Linked DNA regions of Homo sapiens: region 2 is linked to region 1. The links are contacts of gene promoters, found by promoter capture Hi-C in human tissues and cell types (Jung and others, 2019). All regions are on one chromosome and are shown on one strand. The core of a region is centred on a gene start or on the middle of the fragment in contact, and the rest is flanking DNA. Distances in the headings are between cores, read along the strand shown.

Region 1 (5,806 bases), core at 1,709-4,208:
CTCCTCAAATATTGCTGGGTTACCATAGTAGAGGGAAAGAAAAAACATCAGCCAGAACTTGTCACATGGTCCAACCCAGCCAGAAGAAACCAGGAAGTGCCATCCAGCCATGGTCTTCAAGAGAAACCAGCTGGAAATATTTAGTGGGCAGCAATGATTACCACAGTCTTTTTGAAAACCCCAAGCCTGAACTTTTAGGCTGTGTGCCTGGTCCCAGGGGAAAAGCTCAGGCCTAAGGGAGCAGCTGGAAAAATAGAGGTCCACCTGTTCTGCTGTACCTGCTGGAGTATAGGAAGCACTCATAGGGGTGCATGGGTCCATAGTCCCTACATCTACACAGTCTATGTGCAGTATGAACCACACACTTCCTGCCTCCCTGACACCTTGAGTTGACATGTGGTCTCATGTTCTCTAGCCCTTCCAGGCTCCTTCTGGGTGTGTTGAAAATGCTTTATGATTTTTCTTCTAGGAATACTCAGCAGGAAGGTGGAGATGGTAGGGGCTGCAGAAGTATTAGAGCAGAGGAGGGGATGATTCTTTGGACCACAGTTGATCACACCACACAGAGCAATCAATTAAGACTTGTACTAAATCATTACTTTATGTTGCCTAAACCTGCCCAGTATTAGGCACTGCAGGAGAGACAAGAGAAATAAGATATAGTCCCTGCTCTCAGGGAACTTATAATCCAAGAGGTGAGTTAGGAACTACTACCTTGTATTGTAATTTTTTTCTCAGTGCCATATGAATGGCACCGAGAATAAAAATTATTAGAGTTGGGACAATGCAGAGCTTGCTGCAGCCGTGATTGGCATGGAGAGACTTAACTGGAAGAATTAGGGCATATGCTGGTCTGGAAAAGGTGTGAGAACTTCGGGTGGGCAAGAGGAGAGGGGAAAAGCATGAGGAAAGGCACAGGAGTGGAAACTCTCATGCCTGCTTTTGACACCTGTGCCCAAAATGGAGGGAAAGGCTTTGGAAGCCTCATATATCAATCCAAGGAGGTTTATCTTCGTTCTTTTTACAAATAGAGGCTGGAAAACCAGCACCAGAGATGCTCTGCAATAGATGCCTGTCTTCAGTGGAGGACAGAGCAAGTCATCATTACCCTAACTTGGCTGTCTGCAGAGCCCCAGCTTCACCCTTACCTCAACCCCTACAAGGAACTTGTTAAAAAGAGACCTTCTTTTAAAATAAGTTTTCTCCACATTACTCAGGACCCATCCCAAAGACATTTTGATTCAGTAGATATGAGATGGGATCCAGAAATCCATATCCTTCACAAGCTTCCCCAGAGACTGATGCAGCTGCTCTGAGAGCCAGGCTTGGAAATTACTACCTAGAGATGACCCTGGCATATCCGACTCAGCCTGTCAAAAGGGAACTTTTTAAATTGCACACTAAAAATGTCTCTTTATTTCTAATGCACTGTATTTCTGTCACCCAGTGGTGTGATCTCCACTCACTGCAACCTCTGCCTCCCGGGTTCAAGCGATTCTCGTACCTCAGCCTCCCCAGTAGTTGGGATTACAGGTGCGTGCCACCACGCCTCGCTAATTTTTTCTATTTTTAGTAGAGACGGGGTTTTGTCATGTTGCTCAGGCTGGTATCAAACTCCTGAGCTCAGGCAATCCACCCATCTTGGCCTCCCAAAGTGTTAGAATTACGGGCGTGAGCCACTGCGCCCGGCCCTAAAATGCTTTATATCTTCCTACATCAATTTTTTTTTGGGCTGTCATCCAGCTCACACCTCTACTACCACCCTCTGGTCTGAAATGCTCTCTGCCTATCAATATTTTGCCAATTCTTCAAGATCCAGCTCAAATTTTATCTATTCTGTAAGGTCTGCCTTCTTTGAAAAAGATTACAGATCTCTCACATATTTTCTTATCAGTGTGTGCTAGGCAGTTGGCTAGTTAGTCTTGGGGAATACACAGATGAGCAAGTCGTGTTCCTGAAAGGCAATGAGCCTCTGAAACTACGTGGGGGCCCGTCCAAGGCGCCCTCCTTCCCCTGCTCTGGTTGGCCTCTTTGAGAACATTTAAATTTTTATTTTTCTCTCCTTGTTTAAAAATACTATCCTTGTCATGGAAAAATAAAAACATGAATTGGAAAAAATTAGAAAAGGCATAAAAACGGCCCGTGGTCTATTAAAGGAATAGACCTTTAATAGAACTACTGAGGCCATGTTGATATATATGCTTCCAAACTTTTCAAAACTGTAATTATACATGTACGCAGTATATGACGCTACATATGTCCTATATTGTTTTAAAATGTTATTTTTAAAACAAAGACAGGATCGTCCTGGACAGGCTTTTTCTCTTAAAACATCATGAACATCTGTTCCTACCAAGACCTTCACCGAAATCATTTTAAATGATGGTATTGCGTCCCATTGCTCATGCCATTAAAAAAATTTACTGTAATAAACCCATTACAGAAAATGCTAAGTGGTTGCCTACCGGGGTTTACCGAACTATATTCCTGTTGTTGGAAGTATTTATTCCATTTCAAACACAGGTGGGCATGAGTTACATCTGTCCTCCCCAAAATAGCCTAAACCTCCAGACCCAGGACCTCGGGCAGCAGAAGTGCCCGTGGGGCGGGGGAAGGGGAGCCGGGCATCCCAGGGCGAGGGGGCCGCCCTGGCCGCGGTCACCCGGGGGACGCCCTGCCCGGAAGCCCGTGCTCGCCCGCGGGCGCGGCCAGGCGGGTCCCATGAGGGGGACCCTTTCAATAACCGAGTCCTCGGGCTGGGCCGCGGGGCCAGCGCAGTGACTCCCCCCGCGCTCGGCAGTCCGGCCGGGGTCGCGGGGTCGCGGGGTCGCGGGGTCGGCCCGGGGTCGCTAGGTCCTCCCGTCGGGCCCCGCGGGCGGGGCTGGGCGGGGCGGGGCGGGGCCGCGGGCAGGCGGGCGCAGCGCCTGCCGTTCGCCTCTCAGGCTGCAGGTGGGGCTGTGCGGCCGCGCTGCCTCCAGGAAGCCTCACGGGCCTTCGTCTGCCGGGCCGCGGCGCCGGCTCCCAGGATGCAGTGTGGACCGGCCGGGCGCTGACGGAGGCGGCGCGACTGCGGGCGGCGCGGCGCAGGGGCAGCCAGCGAGGAGCGGCGGCAGAGGAAAGGCCAGGCAGGCGCCGCCTGCGGAGAGCACCGGGCGGCCGGGCCTGCGTGGTGCCGCGCGCGGCGGCGGCGACGACGACTTCCTCCGGGCCGGGCGGGACAGCGCAGGGCCATGGCCGAGGCGGTCGCGGCTCCGGTAAGGGCGACCCGCGCGCGCAGGGACTCGCGGCCTGGGGGCCCCAGGCGGCCCGGCCCCGGCACACGGCGCCGCAGGCCCTGGGGAGGGGTTCCGGGGTCCGGGCCGGACCACCGGGCCTGGGGCTCCCGCGAATGGGGCGCGGGGTCCGCCGGGGCCTACTGCGCCCGTCGGCCGGGCCCCCACTCCGAGCCGAACCCGAGCGCTGGCGGAACGGTTGTCCCCGCCCCGGGCCGCCCCACGCCAAGTTCTTTGGGCCCTCCGGGGCTTCCTGCCCCCGCCCCAGCCGCTGTCCCCTCCTTCTGGGTGCCCCCCCACCCGCGGCTCCTTTCTCTGCCTGGCGCTCGGCCTGTAGGTCCCTCTCCATCTCCCCCGCAGCGGCCTGGTGGCACCTGGGAGGTGTCCGGCTTCGAATCCGCATACACCGACTCCCACTACGTGCCCAGCTTCCCGGGGTCGGCGCGGAAGGGAATATAGAGCCACGCACTTCCACAAGCCCTGTTGAGGCGTTAGTCTGTCCTCACAGCAAGCCTGTGGGATGGGTACTGGTGTTAATCTCTGTCATACAAAAGAAAAACCCGGGGCCTAGAGAACTTAACTTGCCCAGGCTTACCCAGCTGGAAAGTGTGAAAAGACACACAGTGGCTGTGTGTTCAAGGACCAGGCAGGCAGGTACGCGGGCAATAATCGTGCAAAACAGAAAGGGGTGAGTGCTGGCGCCCAGGTGGAAGCTTGCGGTGGGCTCCGGGGGAAGGAGTGTCAGGGGGCCTCTTGGTACCGCTGTCCACCCCTCCTGGCCTGATGCTCTGCGCCTCTGTGATTTGAGCCGGGCTTTTAGGGAAGGCTAGGATTTCAGGCCCAGCTAGACCGGTGGTGCTTTCAGGGAGGGAGGAGTGCCTGGGCAAAGGCGCAGAGAGACGGGACAGTGCAGGGCGTGTGCAGGCACAGAAAGGAGTCCATGAGCCTGGAGAAGATGGTTTTGGTTTGGAGGCAGTGGGAAAGGAGTCTGCAGAGAGAGACTAAGAAGGGGTTTGCATGCCTGGACTTCATCCTGCGGGTGGGCAGTGGATGAGGGATCCGGCTCCTCTTACCATCAGCTCCTCTCAAGCAAAGAGTTTCAGCTCCCCTGGCAGGAGTCCAAGGACAGCCCCACATATTCCAGCCACTTGTCAGTAAGAAGCTGGGCTGGAGTGAGCAGCGCACAGTCGCCACCTCCCACCACATAGTGTGAAGACCTTACACAGGGTTTCCTGGCCCCATCAGAACTGTAAGAAAACCATGCACCTTGTTGTCCATGAGTAAAAGACTAATATTTTCTTAATAAAGTAGTTTAGCAGAGGTCCCTTTCATGCCACACAAAGCCCATAATAATGCACGTGGAGGATGGGTAGGATTTCAGTGGATAAGGAGCTGGTGACCAGTTGAAAGGAAGCTTCTGGAGTAAACTCTTGGCGTCTGGGATCACGTGACAGGGATTGATCTGAGAAAGGAGAGGTGAGGGAAGGAACAGTGGCCTTAGGTGGAGGGTGGACTCAAGCCCAGAACCACGCTGGCCCACCCAGGTGCTGTAGGACCACCTACTCCTTGAGAGCAAGACTCCCACCCGCATTGGGGTTTTCGCCTAGAAACAGTTCAGCTTGTCCAGAATCTCCCAGCCTTGAAGACCCCTTAGAGTCCTACCTTCTTTGGGTCCTGCTTCCTTCCAAATAGATAGTATCTTAAGCACTGTCCTAGACAAGTTTGTTTCTCCCTCTGCTCAAACTCTCCTTTTGTCTCTATTTTTTGAGCTGTCCATCCGCATTCTAGTTCTCAGTGACTTTCTCTAAGTGAATCCACACTGGTTTCTAGTAGCTACTTCTTCATTTTGGAAATAATCACCAACCTTTTGTTGAGGAATTATTTTGCAGAATGTTGTAAGGAGGCGTTGATCCTCAGGTCCCGATACCAGGAGCTCCTCTGTGCCCTGTAGGTCCCACATTCAGATGTGGGTGGCTCAAACAGTCCAGCTCCCTACCCACCGCAAAATGTGCCCATTCTTCCTTGTCCCAGCTGCCGGTCACTGATACGCCATGTGAACATTTCCAATGACAGGGAAGGCCCCCGTCTCTAATTAAGATGGTTGCTGTCCATATACAAGTCTAACTGTGGCATATATGTACTTTCCTCACCAGACTGCAGGGTATGTCACTGCTCCTGGTACAGCTACAAAAATGTCGGAGGCCGTCATTTTTACCTTGAGGGGGTGGGAATTGGGAAAGAGAAAGAATCTTGTAGGGCTCAGGCAGTGTCAAAAAGCCTAACTCTGGACTGATGGAGATTTGCAGTCATGGGGATTTTAGCTTGTGGGGGAGGGGCAGATGGGAAGGTGACAAAATGAGACTGTCCTGGGGGAAGAGGAACTGGCCATTAGATTTTTATGTTTGTTAAAAGGGGACATGAGATGCTTTAAAAAACAAAAAAAGAAAAAAGAAATTGAGCAATACTCTTGTTTGTGCCGTTTCAGTGAACCAGCTGTTTTTTTTGCTGGGTCATCATCAGTAGACAGTTCCTGT
Region 2 (5,806 bases), core at 1,092-3,591, 50 kb before region 1:
TTGCTGCCCCCAAGACAGTAAGACCAACCCCTCTTTTCTTCTTCAGCCTACTCTGTGAAGATGACAAAGATTAGGACTTCTATGATGATTCACTTCACTTCTACTTATTCCATAGGAAATAAATTTTCCCTTATGATTTTCTTAATATTTTCTTTTCTCTAGCTTTATTTTAAGAATACAGTATATAACACATAGAACATATAAAATATGTGTTCATTGACTGTTTATGTTATCAGAAAGGCTTCCAGTCAACAGTAGGCTATTAGTAGTTACATTTCAGGGGAGTCAAAAGTTATATCCGCATTTCTGACTGCAAGTTGGTGGGTAGAAGTCATAGGGGAAAAAGAAGTCTGGAGAGCTGAAAAAGGACGGAGGGTAGCTCTGAGCTGCATTGCATGGAACCAAATTCTGTGTGGTGACTATAAAGCCCTTCCATCTTTAGCATCCTGTTCCCCTGCTACTCCCTGCACCACCTTCCCTGCTCCACTCCCCACGCTCCCCGTCCTCAGGCACTCCAGGACCCGCACTTGATGCTGGCCTCTGCTGAGGCTCCTTCTGCCTGCACGGCTCCTGCCTGTAGCACTGCAAGAGCAAGGCCAGGCTTCCTACATGAGGCTCCAACTTCTACACTCTTCAAAACTTGAAAAGAAATTGACTTGCACCTTAGAAAGTGGCAGTGTTTGTCTCTTAGGCTAATATTTTATGGGAGTAAGCAGATTGCAGCTACAATTATGTTATTATGGACTGTTATACTCTTGTTCAGGGAGAAAAAATCTGCTAGGGATTAAGCAGAATTGGGTTCACATCTTTGCTTTTTTTTTCTTTGTTTAAAAAGTAATTATTATTTTTTGTTTGTTTCGGATCTTTGCTTTTAGCTGTTGTTGCTTTTAACTCCATGGAGAGACCGAATGGAGTGAGCCCAGCAGGGCATGCTGGGCAAGAGAGGTCCCCCGAGTCCCAAATAAGAATTTCAACTAGTATAAAACGAGGCAGCGAACCCACACGTGGAAGTCTGATACCGCTTGCAGAAGGGAATTGAATAGATGTCTCCCTATTGGTAAGGATGTGGTTTTATTGACTTGAAATAACAAAGCCCGCAAGCAACAACTGATCATCCGCGGGATGCTGCCACAAGGAATAATTGAGCACTCATTCAGACACAGGGGAAACCACTGCCTCTTTCAGTCTTTCTCCCAGATTCCAACAGTCAGTGTTACAGCATTTCACCTTGTTCACCTCCCTGAGAAGACGTTGCAGCTCACTCACCCCAGTGGGCACTGGGAGCCTCTGCTCAGGTGGGAGACAGATGCCCCCCACATGCACATCTGGTGTTTATGAAGCAGATACTGGGGCTTCATAAACACAGAAGGGGCAGGGAAGTAGCCCCAGGGCATAGTGTGGGGCCTCCTGACTAAAAGTAGCTTGCAAACCCCTGCCTATAACAGCCACTTCCTGGCAGTCATTGTGCCACTTAGGAGCCCTCCTCACCGCTCTTCCTTTAGTTCCTTCACTCTGTATAGACCCTGCCAGAGCAGCTCAGGGTGGAGCAGCTGCAGCCATGGGACCTGCTCCAGGCAAGGCCCTATGCTACACAGTCCCTGGGGGTGAGGATTCCAGAGGAGTCAATTCCCTACCCGCCCTTCCAGGGGATGGCCGAGATGAGCGTTCCCACAGGGAAAGTGAAAGTTGCAAGGCTGTTGCGGAAACACCAGGGGTTCCATCTAGGTCTTGCTGCTCATCTCACAGAAAGCCAGTCACTGAGACAAGTATTGTCAGGGAAGAAGGCTTTATCCAGGTGCTACAGACAGGGTGAACAAGAGATCAGTCTCAAATCCATCATCATCAACTGACTAAAATTAGGGGTTTATATAGCAGGGAAGAAATGTAACTACATGTGGGAAAACAGGGATTAACGAGGGGCAAGGAAGAGGAGTTGGCCAACAGGCAGCAGGTGGTCACCTGGGGAATCATGATGGGTGAGGGGTCTGGCTTCTCACTTTCCAGATGTGGGGATCTGGTAAATTTCAGTTTCTTGATACCGTCTGGGAGGATTGCTGGCTGGTTTCCTGAGAAAGGAATTCAGATGACATAAATGTAAATTTCTCCTTGGGTTTCAAGACTGAGAGGGTCAATTTCTAGGTTTATTCAAGAAAAACCATAAACATCAGTTCTATGGGACAATTGGGCCCATTTCAAGGCTCTGAGGATAAGGGTTAATGAGGGGACAGAGTCGCCTGGAGAAGTTCACTGGGGCCTACAAGAAACTAGAGAGGCTTCCTGGCAAAGCTCTATGCTGTCTATCCTCTCTTCTCTCCTTGCAGGAAGATTCCAGTATAATAGACCCGAGGTGAAAAGGCTTTTGTTCAATAAGTAGAAAACTGAAGGGGGGTGGGAGGCACATGGATTTGAACCAGAGACCGCTTGGCCTGCAGGCAAATGCTGTACCTTCAGTTGCACCCCTCACTTGTTACAGCTGTTTCTGATAAGCACTTGTGCAGCCCCATCAGCACCTCGATTTCTTCTTGGTGAGTCCATGGGAACAGCCCCACTGCAAACAACCCATTCCTGCTCTCCTCTTTCCTCTAAACCTCAACCTCCTCCTACCTGGCAGTCCACAGGCCTACAGCTTCTCCTCAGTGGGAAAGACATCAGCTTGGAAAACCACTTGGAAAGCCAACGTTATCCTAGAAAAGCTTTTTAAATGACCCAGCAGGACAAGTCTCCGGATGGCCTTGGCCAACCCGGTGCTTCCCTCTTTTCTTGGTTGTAGTTCTCAGAATAACTAGAGAATGTACTGGGAGTGTTGTCCTGAGATAAGGAGGAACTGTCCTAAACCTGGACTCTGTTCCCATCACACCTAGAACAGGATGTCCTGCAACGCTTTAGCCCAATGATCCAAGTTGCCCTTGGGGTATAAAACTTGACAGCAGAGGGCGTTCAGGGTCCCTCAGCTGCAGTGTGAAGTGGGACACACAGGTGAGACTCCATCTGCCCTGGGCAGGTTCCTGAGCCTTGGGGGACCAGTTCACCCTACATCCCAGGCTTCTGTTGTCCCTTGCCTGCCTGTAAGGAATAAAGTTGCTTTGCTTAACTTGCTGTGTGAGTGTTCTGCATCACTGGACTCGAGCAAGTGGTACAAACTGCAGATTAATAACTGGTACGTGGTGAATCTGCTTCCTAAGTGTTTGCTGAATTTTGCGGCCCAGGAGATCATCTGGTGTTTCTGTGATGTGGGAAGATTAAAAGAAAGAAAAATCAAACCTCACACCTAACAAATCAGAATCTCAAGGTGGGACCCAAGGCATCTGTATACTTGACCACCCTCCCAGGTCATTCTGGTTCTCAGACATGTTTGGCAACTTTGATTTTAGTCTATACTTGCATGTTATATGCCTGAAAGAAAAAACAAAGACTAAAGGCCTGCATGAGTTCACACATCACCTTAATAACAAGATCATAGCTAGAACCACATTCCTAGTTTTGGGACTTTCCATTGCCGCAGCCCAAAGGATGACTAGATTCCTTTCCATCTCTTCTCCCTCCACTTCCTTCCCAGGAACCTCCCCTCAACCTGCCATAGGACCTGGGGCAACCTAAAGGTACCAATTGGTATGTGGTACTAAAAAGAGACTCTTTCCAGGGGGCACCTGGATTTGAACCAAGGACTTCTTGATCTGCAGTCAAGTGCTCTACCCCTGAGCTATACCCCCTCAGCTTCTAGGAGTTTCTACTAAATACCTTTTCACCTATGTTGCAACACTCACATCTATGCACTGAAATTTACGTTGACTCTTAGAAAGTTTTAGAGATTTGGACATTTTGCCTCACAGCAAATTAGCCCTTTTGGCCCTCTTCTTCCTTATTAATCCCTCCCTACTTGGTCCCCTAGAAGCCTCCTCAGCTCACTTCCATCTCGTCTTAGGACCACTTCCAAGACACCTGCTTGAAGAATCATTGCCAAGAGCAGGGCCACTCCTTTCTTCCTTCATCTCCTCCTTAAAGTCCACTAACTTGAATGTGTCCCCACGTCCCTTCTTTCCACCCTCACCCCTACCCCAGTGGATAGAATTGGGGGCTTTTCTGCTCATCTCCTCTCTTTTTATTCTCATGTCAACTATTCTTGGTTTTTTGCATGGTCTTGACTGAACCCAGGAAAGCCCATACCAATAATTCGAATTATTTGAATCCCATCATGGAGCTCAGGAAGCTTCCCCAGCTGTCCCAAGGGGCCTCAGGCTAGAAGCACAACTGAAGCAGCAAGGACCAGAAATGTCTCCTCTGCTGGGCAGACCCCTGCCCTGAGGCACAGCACCACAGGTCCTGCAAAGTGAACCTGGCCCTTGGCCAACATCCTACATTAAGGCCACTTCTGACATTAAAAGGCCATACAGATCTCAAAAATGTAGAGAAAGGACACCCACCCAAAGGGTCACATGAGATGGTGGCAGTGCCTGTGATAACTGTCACGGAGACCAAAGCTCAGAATGCACAGAGGCTCACAAAGGAAAATGCAATCTCTTTGTGTCTTTCTACAGTGCCAAACACAATATTGAGCATAAAAGTTGGGATGCAATAAATATTTATTGGGGGAAGTAAAGACAGCAAAATTGGCAAGGTTAATAACTAAGAATAGAGTTAATATAAATTACTTGAGGTAGCACCAGTCAAATGAACTCTGTTGCTATTTGGTGTTCAGTTCTCCAAACCTGAGCATGCATACTCTTCTGAGCTCAGATTCCATCTTTCTTGCTGGAGGAGATGAGCCAATTCACAGACACGTGGAGCTCTGTCACTGGCTACTCTCTCGGTCTTCTGGCTCCCCCAACAATGGTCCTCTCTTATTGGAAAGGGAAAAGGCAAGGAAGGAATTAAAAGAAATCCTCATGTTAAAATTCTTCTTGTTAAACAATAAGACTCTAAAAAGTCCAAAAGTCTACAACCAGCAACCGTCATACTTAATGGTGCAACGTTAGAAGCATTCTCTTAAAAACTGGAAATGACAAAGATGCGTGGTAGCTTTGTTTCTATTTAAAACCACCAAAAGCTAGAGGTAGTGCATTTAAGACCAAAAAAGTAGGGTTTTTCAGTGGAATAGAAGAAACAAAACACCCATTATTTCAGTGACACTGTGGTTATATAGAAAACACAAAGTAATCTACAAATTATCTGAATTATTAATTTTAATAAATTCAAATAAGTTATACAATAAACTTATTTTAAATCAAATATATTTCCACACACCTGTAACAGAAATGAAATTTCTTAACAGAGTAACAAAAATACAGGCTCCCTAGGAATAAATACAAGTTGTACAAGACCTTTGTTTAGACTATTTTAAAGCTTCATTGAAATATTTAAAGGGTACTTAAATAAGTAGAGAAGTATGCTTTGTTTTTGGATAGGACAAGACAATTTTGTAAAGATACTGCTCTCCAAATTTACAGATTTAATGCAATTGCAATCAAAATCCTAATAGTGATTTTTATAGTAATTGACACACTAATGTTAAAAATTATGTGGGAAAATAAAGAGTTGGGAATAGGTAGAGTTTATCTGAAGAAAAATAATTAGGCAAGGAAACCAGCGCTACCAGATATGAAGACTTATAATGTTATAAGACCGTGTAGTATTGACATAAGGGTACACAAACAAAACTAATGAAGAGAATGGGGATTCTAAAAATTGACTATCCATAGATAGAAACCTGATATATGAGAGAGGCAGCATTGTAGACCAGTGAAGAAAGGGTGTACTCTCTGATAAAAGAGTGCTAGGACAATTAGATATTCATTCACAAAATAAATTC

What was found. The method cuts DNA at HindIII sites, captures the fragments that hold promoters and counts their contacts. A contact is called where the count stands out against the background at its distance.
Region 2: a fragment that was not itself captured here is called in contact with the fragment with the promoter of ZNF746 in region 1 in 1 of the 25 tissues and cell types used here (liver).

Annotation. Positions count from the first base shown.
Region 1 is chr7:149,494,961-149,500,766 of GRCh38, reverse strand. ZNF746 (zinc finger protein 746) reads left to right here and starts at 2,958. Exons shown (of 7, transcript NM_001394198.1): 1 at 2,958-3,254. The coding sequence starts at 3,231. RefSeq lists silencers at 2,594-3,263, 3,504-3,563 and enhancers at 3,697-4,640, 5,435-5,806. The HindIII fragment of the contact is 4,774 bases long and covers 1-4,336 here.
Region 2 is chr7:149,544,444-149,550,249 of GRCh38, reverse strand. It overlaps TRC-GCA16-1 (tRNA-Cys (anticodon GCA) 16-1), which reads right to left and starts at 3,710; the gene lies at 3,639-3,710. It also overlaps the pseudogene ZNF767P. The HindIII fragment of the contact is 7,807 bases long and covers 1-5,806 here.